4 separate regions of the Homo sapiens genome follow, and regions 2, 3 and 4 are each linked to region 1. Evidence: promoter capture Hi-C in 16 types of primary human blood cells and fetal thymus (Javierre and others, 2016). All regions are on one chromosome and are shown on one strand. Each heading gives the region's core, a stretch centred on a gene start or on the middle of the fragment in contact. The rest is flanking DNA. Distances are from core to core; before and after follow the strand shown. Region 1 holds the start of PLSCR5-AS1 (PLSCR5 antisense RNA 1). Region 2 has its middle 46 kb from the start of PLSCR4. Region 3 has its middle 10 kb from the start of PLSCR4. Region 4 has its middle 29 kb from the start of PLSCR4.

The links. The method cuts DNA at HindIII sites, captures the fragments that hold promoters and counts their contacts. A CHiCAGO score of 5 or more calls a contact.
Region 2: a contact is called between a fragment that was not itself captured here and the fragment with the promoter of PLSCR5-AS1 in region 1, in 1 of 17 cell types (monocytes). The highest score is 6.3, in monocytes.
Region 3: a fragment that was not itself captured here is called in contact with the fragment with the promoter of PLSCR5-AS1 in region 1 in 9 of 17 cell types (naive CD4 T cells, monocytes, fetal thymus and 6 more); the score reaches 9.8 in naive CD4 T cells.
Region 4: a fragment that was not itself captured here is called in contact with the fragment with the promoter of PLSCR5-AS1 in region 1 in 2 of 17 cell types (naive CD8 T cells and total CD4 T cells); the score reaches 6.9 in naive CD8 T cells.

Annotation. Positions count from the first base shown.
Region 1 is chr3:146,587,471-146,590,928 of GRCh38, forward strand. PLSCR5-AS1 (PLSCR5 antisense RNA 1) reads left to right here and starts at 2,132. Exons shown (of 2, transcript NR_046698.1): 1 at 2,132-2,318; 2 at 2,593-2,855. PLSCR5 (phospholipid scramblase family member 5) reads right to left here. Exons shown (of 8, transcript NM_001085420.2): 6 at 2,183-2,344. The HindIII fragment of the contact is 1,724 bases long and covers 598-2,321 here.
Region 2 is chr3:146,295,030-146,298,386 of GRCh38, forward strand. No RefSeq gene overlaps it. Among named protein-coding and RNA genes, the nearest start is that of PLSCR4, 46 kb to the left of the region's middle. The HindIII fragment of the contact is 1,511 bases long and covers 958-2,468 here.
Region 3 is chr3:146,259,553-146,262,797 of GRCh38, forward strand. No RefSeq gene overlaps it. Among named protein-coding and RNA genes, the nearest start is that of PLSCR4, 10 kb to the left of the region's middle. The HindIII fragment of the contact is 516 bases long and covers 1,265-1,780 here.
Region 4 is chr3:146,278,267-146,281,755 of GRCh38, forward strand. No RefSeq gene overlaps it. Among named protein-coding and RNA genes, the nearest start is that of PLSCR4, 29 kb to the left of the region's middle. The HindIII fragment of the contact is 4,771 bases long and covers 1-3,489 here.

The DNA.
Region 1 (3,458 bases), core at 882-3,381:
TCTAAATATTAACGTTAAGTGTGGGGCTTAATCAGAAAGGCCTAATGAAGATCTTGGGGAAAGGGTGTGTGTGTGGAGGGGTTGGTGTTGAAGTCAGAATGATCAAAGATGGGAACAGTAAGCAAAGGAAGGGTGACAAGTTAAAAGCACTGTCCAGTGGATAGAGGAGAATAGGGAAGAGATGACATTAGGCAACAGGCAAGGTGGACTAAGCTGGTTAGATTTGCAGATGAAAATGGGAGTTGAGAGTAAGTGACAACTTAGTAAGTTTAAAAACCTAGCACTCTATAGATATTACTTCCATCTTCTACCAATAATAGGAGACTGGTAAGTTAAAATAATTCCTCTGAAATCCTGGAGAAATAATCCTAATATACATACTTGTATATGTATATGTATATGTATATATGCATATATATATACATATATATCTATGTATTAAATTCTGAGTTTCAGTGAAGTCATCAGGGAATAATTTTTAGTTCATATATTTTCCAAATATCATTAGAAGAGACTCAGTAAATAGGGCATTAATGTAAACAATCAGATTTAGCATTCTGAAACCCCAGAAAACAATAAAACATGAGAAGGAATTTAAGCTTTATAAAAATTTCATGATTACCAAAAGTGCATAACCTGAATCTAACCATGACACAAACTGAAATTAGGCCACAGTTTACAAAATAATTGGCTTATGCACTTAAAAAATGCCAATGTCGGCTGGGCAAGGTGGCTCACACCTATAATCCCAGCACTTTGGGAGGCCAAAGCGGGTGGATCACGAGGTCAGAAGATCGAGACCATCCTGGCTAACACAGTGAAACCCCATCTCTACTAAAAATACAAAAAAATTAGCCGGGTATGGTGGCACATGCCTGTAATCCCAGCTACTCGGGAGGCTGAGGCAGGAGAATCGCTTGAACCTGGGAGGCAGAGGTTGTGGTGAGCCAAGATTGCGCCACTGCACTCCAGCCTGGGTGACAGAGTGAGACTCTATCTCAAAAAATAGAACAAAAAATAAAACAAAAACAAAAATGCCAATGTCATGAGACTCAGGGAAATGCACATGCATGTGCACATGTTCATGCACACACATATACACACACACACACCCCTTAGGAACAGTTCCAGGTGAAAAGAAACAAATGAGATGTGACAAAATGGACATACTTCATGATCTTGGATTTTCTATTGTCAGAAAGGACATCATTATGCAAATCAGTGCAAACCGAATAAAGTCTGTAGATTAGATAATAGCATTGAATCAGTGTTTAGTGCCTGACTTTGACAATAGTACTGTGATGTGTAAAAAAATTCCTTGTTTTTAGGAAATGCACACTAATATAATTAGGGGAAAAGGCATCATGTCTGCAACCTACTCTCAACTCTTATGCTGTTTGTTTTAATCACTTATGTGTGTGCCTGTGTATACACATCTTTTTCATGTATTTATAGAAAATACATGTGTTTATATATCAACAAATAAAAACTCCATAAGTTTTTATGGCTGCATTGAAAATGGTAGGAAATTAGGTAAATATTAGAGGGAAAACTAAGAACAGGATATAGGTCAAGCATTTTGATACAGGTATTATTTGACTTCTGTTCTTCTATCACCAATCTCCATATACCAAAGAAGAAAAGGTTTTCAATATAATTGTAAGTTGGAAAGTAATAACAAGAACATAGTATCTTAGAAATAATGGCAACTGGTACCTATTAACTCATCAAATCATTTCATGTGTCTATGTTCACACTGAGAAGGCAACATTCTTAATATCATCTAGCTCACTATTATGCAATGAACCAGTCTGGAACTTTATCCAGGATAAATCATGTGATATTTATGTTTGCATATTTTTTAGTTCAAGTGAAAATAAGCCAAAAATCTAAATTGAACGTAAAAGCAAGGGGAAACTAGGTTTTAAAGAAATGATGAATAGGATGTGATAACACTTCAATCTTTGAGAAAGGGGATATGAGATCACTGAAGAGGGGCTGCCTAACAGAAATGCAGGGTTCTAAATTCTAATTTTTGAAGAACATTGGTCCTAAGCTATCCTTCTATGAATAAAATATACTCTTTGGGGGTAAAAACTGTGTAAATGGGATAGGCTATATTGTAATTAACAAGCAAGAGGGAGAATAACAAATCACTCATGCTCTCAAAGCCCATACTTACAAAGAGAAAACAGGCACCGATCATTGCTGCTTTGACTGTTACATCTAGATCTGCAGGAACATGAATTCCGAAATTGTCAGCATTTGTGAAGACATCATTTACAAATCCTGACCAGTACTTTGAAATCTTCCCAATTGTAAGCTTTTCATTAATGGTTTTCACCTTTAGAAAGAAAATAAGGAGTATTAAATTTGACAGTGAAAAAAGTTGGTTTTATACTTCTGAGGGTGTTTACTTCATGAGAGATTTGAATTATTTTATTTGTCATCTTCAAAATGACAATTCCATGTTATTCATTCCATCATATAAGCATAGGTTTGTAAATTTAGCTTTTCAGTTTACTTTTTAGAAACTTTGCTTTTTTGACAGTTTTCTAGTCCATCATAATTCTTTTTCTTTTTTGTATGCAGATGGAGAATATCAGGATAAATAATTAAGGCTCAGCCACCACAAGATGGCAGCAGGTACATAGTTCAATTGTATCATCTAAGCATGAAGGCGATTTCTTTACTTGAGGTCCAGATTTTAAACCTGAATTCTCCATCTTAAAAATGTAAAAGAAGATATGTTTGAAAAAATATTTCAGAAGGAATTAAATTAATTTCTAGGCATAATTTGTAAACTTTCAAATTTCAGTTGCTAAAATTTTATAATTATTAAAACATTTAAATATTATTGGCCATTGTTAAATCACATTTTTATATTATACTCAGACATTTATTAGGTCAATACTTTCTAACAAATCCTAAATCCTATTTTTACATTAAAAAAATCCTCCTGGTTAATGTACCATATAGGAAGTTAAGACCAACTAGACATCAATCAGTCCTTCTCAGCTAGAAGGAGTTCACAAATCAACTTTATCAGCTATTTGTTTGTTTATTCTGCTTCCCATCCTGATGCTGAAAGTAATTCAAGAGAAACTATCACTTTTTTCAGGGTAGTAAAAGATAGAGAATAGAGAGGGTTACTTAGGACATTTCTATAGCATGAATGCTAAAACTCTTATGTTTAAAGTCCTCCTCAATCATATTACTCGTAGGAAAGTCATGCCAAATCCTTTGGGGATAGGGTGAAGTTGGAACAGCTCAGTTTGCAAAATTTGCATTGTATTCTACGTGCATAGTGTTTCCTGAAGTCCTGAGAACTAAATGCCCTTGCTGAGATATTTATGTATGAATGGATGAAAAATAAATATACACTTTCAATTAGGCTGTCTCCTCTACCTAAGTTGTATGTCCAGGACAACCTGTTAAGATAGTTTATATTGCTACAG
Region 2 (3,357 bases), core at 463-2,962, 290 kb before region 1:
TTGGTCTTCTCCCTTATTTTCTTCATTAGTCTTATAAAAGGTTTGTGAATTTTGTTGATATTTTCAAAAAAACAAATTTTTTGTTTCACTGATATTTTGTATTGTTTATTCATTTCAAATTCATTTATTTCTGCTCTAATCTTTATTATTTATTTTCTTCTACTAACTTTATGATCAGTTTGCTCTTGCTTTTCTAGTTCTTTAACATGTATCATTATTTATCAAGTTTTTCTTCTTTTTTATGTCATCACTTATAGCTATAAATTTCCCTTTTGGTACTACTTTTGCTGTATCCCATAGGTTTGGAATAGTATGTTTCCATTATTATTTGTTTGAAGAAATTTTTCAGTTTTCTTTTTAATTTATTCATTGACCCACTGGTCATTCAGGAGCATATTTATTCTTCCTGTGTTTGTATAGTTTCCAGTATTCTTCGATTTCTAGTTTTATTGCATTGTGTTCAGAGAAGATGCTTGATATTATTTCAATTTTTTGAATGTTTTAAGATCTGTTTTGTGATGTAACATGTAGTCTATCCTTGAGAATAATCCATATGCTGAGGAGAAGAATCTGTATTCTGCAGCCTTTGGAAGAAATGTTATGTAAATATTTATTGAGTCCATTTGTTCTACAGTACTGCTTACATAATTTTTAGTGGGTTTTTTTTTTCTGGATTATAGTATAAATCCTTAATGTTTTACAGCATATTAGAGGTAGTATTATACCAATTATTATAAAAGTAGAAAGACTGAAATATATGGGTCCATTTACTCTATGCACAATCATTGTGTTACAGTTTTTATGTATAGCACATCTTTACATGTTATAAACCCTGTTGTTTATAATTGTACTATAATTTTTGCTTTAAAAATTAAAAGGAATTAAGATTAAAAAAAGTCTTTATTTCTTCATAGGCATAGAAGTTTGCAGTTGGTCTAATTTTGCTTCAGCCTGAAAAGCTTTCTTTAGCATTACTTGTAGTCCAGGTACGGTGGTGGCAAATTCTTTATTTTAATTTACCTCAAATTATCTTTATATTACCTTCAATGTTTAAGCATATTTTCACTTGATAAGGAAGTCTAGATGCACAGTTGTTCTTTGTTTGGGTATTGAATTTTGACCACAATCTCTGTATTCTGGGTACTTTTTACATGCAATTGGCAATTATTTTCTCCTAATCTGTGGCTTATCTTTTCATTCACATCAGAGGACCTTTTGCAGAGTAAAAAAAAGTTTTAAATTTTGTTGCGGTCAAATTATTTTTTCCTTTTATGTATTGTGGTTTTGTTATCAAGTTTATAAAGTCTTTGCTTAATCCTAGATCATGAAGATTTTCTCCTATTTTTTTCTTAAATTGTTATAATTTTATGTTTTACATTTATATATCTGACATGTTTGCATATAACTTTTTTGTGTAAAGTGTGAGGTTAAGCCATGTAAAATTTTGCCTTGGATGTCTAATTACTTCCACACCATTTGTTGAAAAGTCAATTTTTCCTTCATCGAATTGCTTTTGTACCTTTGTCAAAAATCAGTTGAACAAGTTTGTGCAGGTCTATTTTTCTACCCTTTCCCATTGACCTCTATGTCTATGCCTCTATCAATATCACACAGTGCTCATTATTGTAACTCTTAGATGTTACTATTCGGTATACTGAGATCTCTCTTAACTTTTTTTTCATTTTTAAAAATTATTCTAGGGCCTGTGCCCCTAGAATAAATTTTATGATAATTTTATGATAAGTAAATTTTCTGATAAGCTCTAGGTCTACAGAAAACAATTTTGAGGATTTTACAGGAATTACATTAAACTTAGAAATCAATTTGGGAAGAATTATTGTTATATTTCTATCTTCCTTCATTCCTTTATTCCTTCATTCCTTTAACCAGAATTTTATAATTTTCAGCGTACAGATTCTGTACATGTTTAAGTGAATGAGAGAAACAATTCTACCTAAAATTAAGACTTTTTAATGAATACCTAAGTATTTAATTTTCTTTGGAGTGATTATAAATGTTACGGCACTTTAAAATTTGTTTTCTACCTGCTCATTGTTAGTAGAAATGCTATTGATTTTCATGCCTTGATATGTGTCATGTGGCCTGGCTAACCTCATTTACTAGTTTTAGAAGTTTTGTTTATTTGGTTTGTAGATTTCTTGGGATTTTCCATGTAAACACATGTCAGTGTTTTGAATCTGTGGGCTTATATATTTTGCCAGATTTGGAAAGTTTTAAACATCATTATTTTTTAATGCTCTTTCAACCTACCTCTCTAATGTCATAAATGTTGGATGGTTTATTATTCTACAGGTCCTTGAGACTCTATTCATATGTTTTTTTCAGTCTATTTTCTCTCCGTTATTCAGATTGGAATAACTGCTTCCTATCTGTAAATCAGTATTCAGATTGGAACTTAACGATTCTATTCTCTGCCATCTCCATTCTACTACTGAGCCAATCTAGCAAGCTTTAAAAATTTATCTTACGTTATTTTTCAGATCTATCATTTCGATTTGTTTCCTTTAACTAAATTCTATTTCTGTTTTGCTATTTTTCATCTGTTTCAGGACAATTTGTAACTGCTTGTTGAATCATTTTTCTGTTGGTTGCTTTAAAATCACTTAACATGTAATTAAAAGTGTTACATGGATGTTAAACCTCCTGCATATTTGTATTTACATAATTTTTATTTATGTAAACGTAAATCTTACCTTTGTAATTACATAGCAAATTACATATTATTAATTTTACACATCTTTTAAATAATCACTTTATATATGGACATGCATACACAGAATAAATTTACTGTTTAAATTTCCAAAATTATTTCCCCAACAAACAGTAGATTTCATTTACTAAGACAATGGTTTTCAAGAGTGGTCCTCAGAGCAGCAGCATTAATATTATATTTGAAATACTTAGAAATACAATATTTTTGGCTCTACCCTAAGCATATTGCATGGGAAACTCTGAGGATGGGCCCAGCAATTTGTAGTTGAACAATGCTCCAGGTGATTCTGATGTACAATTAAGTTTGACAATCACTGCTGTGGGAGATCCTTAGCTTAAGGGTTAGCTGTAATGAATATGTTTCTTCTATTTCTGTTAATTCAAAATTGAAATAGAATTATGTTTTAAGTATTTTTTAAAAGGCAATGCAATTGAATAGCTTCTGAAAAATTGAATAATACAGGTCTGATATAAACCTGAAATATCAAGTTAACAATAGACTTTCATTTTAAAAAGAAAAAGTAATATAATAATAATACATTTGTAATGCTTGCTCTCTATATGCCAGGTGTAATTATAAGCACTTTACACATAATAAATATTTAATTCTCACAATTTATATAG
Region 3 (3,245 bases), core at 273-2,772, 330 kb before region 1:
TGCAGATATGGTTATTGTGTGGACAGCTGATTTTTGATTTTAGAAATAGAAACTCACACTGTGCCTATATAATTTTATCTTCCTTATTAAGCCCATTTGGCTTCTCAGCCTTGTGACTAAAATCAGATGTAGCATATTAAGGTTAATAATTGAATCTGTATTATGTTTACCTATCATGTTAGCCATTTTCTTAGATTTTGTCACATGGAATTTGATAATCTTTTTCTTTATGTCTAAATTTATGTCACTGAAACAAATGTTGGGTTAGATAAAGAATCTAATAGGTCATTTCTGAGATTAACCTCTAGGATGACAGAAATTCAGTAATCAATACCTTCTGTAATTGTTCAACCAGCTAAAAATCCATTTAGACTTTCCTTTTACATAATCCACATTTTAAAATGTCTTGCTCACAGCAATGAATATTAAAATCTCTGCTTAATGTGTTAAAAACAGTGTTTATTATGACATGCTCATGATCTCTCTACTCCACCAGTCAGGAGGGAAGGGGAAATGAGTCCATTTTATAAGATTTGATTGAGAACACAATACTGCCTTTGTTAAATGCTCAAATGCTATTATTTACAACTTCTGTACTATAAATTTGCCTGAAACTGACATTACAATGCGTTGTTAGTTGAGTTGTGTCCCCCAAAAAGATATTTTGATATGATTTTATTTAGAAATTGTCTGTATAGATGTAATCAAAATAAAAGAAAACCAATACCGTATTAGGGTGCACCCTAATCCAATAACTGTGGCCTTATAAGAAGAGAGAAATTTGGATACAGAGACAGACACACAGAGAGAACCCATGTGACAATAAAGACAGAGATTAGAGTGATGCGTCTAGATAAGGAGCACCAAGGATTGCCAGCAACCACTAGAGTCTAAGAGAGAGGCATGAAACAAATTCTTTCTGAGTCTGCAAGAAGGAAATAACCCTACCAACATATATATATATATTTTCAGTTTTCTGGCCTTCACAACTGAGAGAAAATAAAATTCCGTTGTTTTAAATGATCTCGTGTGTGGTAATTTTTTAAGGCAATACTAGGAAACTATTACAAAATGTGTGAGTGTTTCTGTGTGTAATTTCTACAAGTCAATATTTTCTTTTCTTGAAAATTGGGACACAATTCGCTTTTTACTAGTTTTCTGAATCTTCACACATTCTGTGATGTTGAAAAGAAAATTGAGAGTGATTTCAATACAATATTTTCATGATTTTTGTCCCCATGGCTATAGTTGATATGATTTTAAAAGCTTGAACTCATTTATGCTATCTGGGTCAAATTGACCTTGATACATGGAGTAGAAAGTGAGTTGCATCTCCAAGAACACAAGAATAAAGAATGTAAAAGAGCAACTGAAGTATTTGGGGGAACATACGGAACTTCTATCAATTATCATTTAAATACATCGAGAAGCATATTTAGAAATGATTGCTTACAAATGGAAAAGGATCTTAAATCTTTCTGAAGTAAAATTGCTCTAAAAACACAATGGTTAAATTTTGTTGGAAAAAACTTTATATATACTTACATATAGATATATACGCCATGCTTATATGTATGCATACACTAGATATGCTTACATGTGATTACATAAGCATGGGGAAAAATGGAAGAACAAACTACTTTTATAAATATGGGTTATCTGGGGTGTGGCAGTAGTGGAAAGAGGAAAAAAATGAGAAAACTGTGGCTTGAGAGGATAAGTAACTTGACCCAACAAGTGATGGAGCTGAGATCTGAACCAAAGTCTGTATTGAATCTAAAGCTTACTGTCATAAACTTTGTTTAAAATGTTATGATATTCAATTCAATGTAGAAAGAGACAGTAAAACAATCTTTTTCAAAAGCGTGCTCTGTTCCTTGAAATTTAATTATAGGGTATCTCTTTTTTCCTTTCACAAAGCATATTAACCAACTTTTCTGTCTATTCATAGAGATATATTTAAATCTTACTTTTTAATTTAACAATATTTTATCTTAGGTATACTTCAGACAGATTAATACAAATATATCTGTGAAATGTCTAAAACTATTTTAAATTTAGAGTATTTATACTTTACTAATGGCTAGGCCATGTGATCATTACGTATTTATATATTTTTACAAAATCCTAAAATGGTTAATGCAGTTCAACAAAAATTTGAGGAACTAGAAAATTTTTGAGGCTGGCATTCCCAAAAGCAAAAATGAGAAAAAGGAAATATTTCTTGAAGTCAGGCAAGTAATTTAACTATATATCGATGAAAAGAGTATTTTAAATTCAAATTTTGTACACGGCAGCCTCGTATGTCACAATCTGCATAATTATTATAACATCAGGGCATTTAATTCAATAGTGTGAATGTTTAAGTTGTGATTAAAGACACACAAGTTTGCCATTGTCCTTAAATGTCGATAAATAACAAATTCTTTTTGTATAGTGTCTATATGCAAAGTGAATTATTTGCTGATTTAAAGAATTTTGGCTGAATCAGATCTACTGACATTTTATGTATATATTTAGGAATGTGAGTTATTCAAGTATGTGTCAGTGATTTAAAATAATGAATGTTAAAAAATTTACTAAAGTCTTAAACATGTAATGAAAAGAGTCTATTTTTTCTACAAAATTGCTCAAGACTTCTGAAATACAAAGCTGATAATGTCACTTCCAGGTTAAAGTCTTTCATTTTTCAGGGAAGATTTTTCATTTTAAAGCCTACAGTTTTCAAGAAAACTCTTAATATGTATTGTAGAACATACAGCCCTAATTTTCTTGCATTTGCTTAATTTTTTTTTTTTGCTTCACCATGTAGCACTTCCCTGTTTTCCATGTTCTAGTGATATGCTAGATACTATATCTATCTATCTATATACATATATCTGTATCTGTATCTATATAAATTCACCATTGTATTATGTTGGTTCATGACACTGTGAGGTTTATGACTTCATAAATATTTTGCCACTGCTTTATCCTCATTTCTCCATCTGGCTACATTCCATTCATTCTCCCAGACTCATTTTAAATATCACCCACTTTGGGAATCCTTCCATGACCTCTCCATTCTGATTTACTGAGTACTTTGAGCTGGTTCTATACTAGGTGCTGGAGATTCAGTAGAAAATAAGACAGGGTTTCTGCCCTCCTAGAACTTACATTCTTGTCAGATCAGAGCCAATAAACAACGAAGTGGATTGCAAAATAATTTTAGAGCATGAAAAGTAGTTTGGAAGTAATAAAGCAAG
Region 4 (3,489 bases), core at 947-3,446, 310 kb before region 1:
TGTCTCTAATTAATGACAGTCTTCTAAGGACTTTGACTTAGAATTGTTCACCAGAGCTTTCATTTTGGTCACCTCTGGAAGTTCTTCTGCCTTACTTGTTTTCTAAGAATCTACCCATGGATATTGCCACTCTAGTCAGATGATTGTTTTCCCATCAGGAAGTCATTCAAACATTTTGCTTCCAGTTTTTGTTTCTTTGGACTCAGTCTTGATGAAGCTATAGACACATGGATGAACTCAGACTCTCTCTTGAAGATGAAGGAAAAGTAGAGGTCTCGTTTGGGAGAAATTTAGGGCATGTCCTCAGGAATTGGGAATTACTGCAAAGCCAAGCAAATTAAGATACAAGATACATCGCAGTGAGGTACAGATAATTTGCCTGGGACTCCTGATTCTAGATCGCCCCTCAGGAGTTCACACGGTGATTCTCAGCATAGGACAAACCAAGTCATAGAATTCATATTGGACATGGCAGAATGTGTGCAAGGGAGCATTTGTAGGTGCCACTTTGATACAGACATTGTTAGCATTGAAAGGACAATGCACAGAGATATTAGGCCTCCTGCAATACATAGAGCAGTCCTGCACAAAAAGTGTGTTGGTGACTTTGATGATTTTGAATCCCTAATGGGTGACATGAAAAAATATGTCATAAACTGTCATCTGATGGATTTAAGATTATTGATTTATCCCATCATCTCCCTGCATTTCTGTTGCCTTTGGCCTACCCCACCAGTGACTTGGGTCACAACCTTGGCTCTGCTTACCTGCGGATGCCCTGCACAACAACCTGACTCCCAGTGGAGAGATTCTTCCCTTTCCCTGCCTCAGGGAAAGAACTGGTTATTTGACCCAGAATGGCTATGTTTGGACAGCATTCCTAGCAGTAGGAAAGGGTTCCTGAGCCAGTATGTGAGTTTCAATACAGCTAGAGGGTAAGAAAATGGACTCTGGCCCCAGGATATCTGGATTTGAACTTGAGCTTTACAACTCACTAAAGGGGAGATGACTTCCAGGAAGTTATCAAACTTCCTTTTGCCTCCGTTTCTTCCACAGTAAAAAAGGGGTAATATTAGTACCTGTCCTAGAGGTTTGTTATGGAATGAAATGTGTCAATACATAAAAAGTGCTTGTGAGAGGCTCTGTAAGTAATATGTTAGCTTCCCCTCCACCCTCAAGAAGCCTGCATCACTGATGATTTATCTTGGAATAGGAAAGTCAAATGACAATTAATGCTGATCACTAGATTTGTGACCTTGGTAATTTCACTTCACCCATCTTTATGTTTCTCTCTGGTAAATAAGGTTAAGAATTCCTGGGGACATTTTGCTAAGTGAAATAAGACAGCGACAGAAGATCAATGACCTGATTCCACTTATATGAGGTAACTAAAATAGTCAACTCATAGTAGCAGAGATTAGAATGGTTGCCAGGGGCTAGATGGAGGGGGAAATAGGGAGTTGCTATTCAATGGGCATAACGTTTCAATTTTGTAAGATGGATGTTAGATCTGCTGTATAAAATTGTGCTTAAAGTTTACAATACTGTATTAAAACTTACACATTTGTTTAGAAGGTAGATCTCATTAACTGTTCTTGCCACAGTTTTTTTGTAAAGCTACAATTTTGCCTCAGTTATTCCACAATGACTTACTAAGATTTCTCTTCCAAAGACCGGGAGCAGCACACAGCAGCAAGCATCACGTAATGTACGTAAGAACTCACAGGCAGAGGGTCAGCAGGAATGAGGGTCTCTTGTTTTTGTAATATGCTAGAGAGTTGTGATTGGACCATGGAGCTGGGTCCTGGCAGAGATATTCTGCCCCTCGCTGCTTTTTTTGTTTTTTTTTTTTAATGGAATAAGCATAACAATGATCTTGCTCAGGGTAATAGACACTTTCAGTTTTGGGGCCAGTTTCTTAATGATGTACTTTAAAAAGCCAGTTCTCTAGCACTGGAAGACAATGAAAAAAGTTGCCAGGCCACCCAGAGAGAGAGCTTCACAGTCCAAAATTAGCACTCCTGCTTTTCTGTATAAGACTGAAAGACAAAACATAAATAAATGAATCTTTAAAATTATTAAGCATGGTGTAATTTAAATGGATGTACCTATGAGTATCAAAAACTAATTTTGAATGATTATAATGAAGAATACAATATACAACATATATAATGCATTATATTATGTTCTTAATCCTAAATTTATAACTTTTACTTAAATATTAAAAACATCTAAAAGTATTTTTAATCATGAATCAAACTTTTGATTAGTAGCTCACAACTGAGAATGCGATAAAATTGATAGCCAAGGGGGCAAGAAAAAAAAACTCCAAAAGACTGTTTTAATTAGTATACAGTTGTTCCTTGGAATCCATGGGTGATTGGTTCCAGAATCCCTACCAAAATCTATGGATGCTCAAGCTCCTCATATAAAAAAGTTGTAGCACAATAAATTCTCATCATCATTGATAAGTTCTTGGAAACTGCAACTTTAAGTAAAACAATGTATAACAAAATCTATTTAATCATAGGCTAATTGACATAAATAAGAATTAAGTTCTTATGGCATATTTCTTGTCACAAAAACATCACCAAACTTCTAATTAAAGACCAAAACACTTCTGATATTCAACAGTGAAATAAATGTGAGCTATATATACCTTTAAGAAAGGCTCAAAAAAACAAATCAGATAAATGTTTATCCAACTACTCCAGTTCAGGATCCCGGGTAGCTGGAGCCTATCCCAGCAGCCCAGGGCCAAGGCTGACACCATTCCATTGCTGGGAGCAATTAGGCACACACACCCACACTCACTTAGAATGGGACCATTTTGACATGCCAGTTAAACTAACATGCACATCTTTGGAACGTGAGAGGAAATCAGAATGCCTGCAGAAAACCCACACAGACATGGAGAGAACGTGCAAACTCAACACAGACGTGGTCCAGGCCAAGAATTGATTTTTTTTCTCTTCAATGTTACAACAAAACAACATTCATGCTGTACTTGCATATAACCTATGCACATCCTCCCATGTACTTTAAATCATCTCTAGATTATTTATAATGCCTAATACAATTTAAATGCCATATAAATAGTTGTATTACTGCATTGATTAGGGAATCATGACAAAAAAATCTACATGTTCAGTACAAAGTCAATCATCCATTTTAATTTTTCTGATTATTTTCGATCCATGGTTGGTTGAATCCACAGATGAGGAACCCGTGGATATGAACAGCCATCTGTAATTAATACTCTAAAACAAATACCAAAATTTTAAAGCCACAAATTTTTATACATTCTTATTTTATAACACATAACATTATTTGTAAATTCATAAGAATAGAACTTACAAGTATAATTTATATGTGATGTTGGCATGTGAATGAAAGTTTAATTTGCATAACTATATTTCAGTAATGAAACTCAAAATAACTTGTCCCAAATCCAATAGTTGATATGTGATAGAGCTAGGATTCTGACCT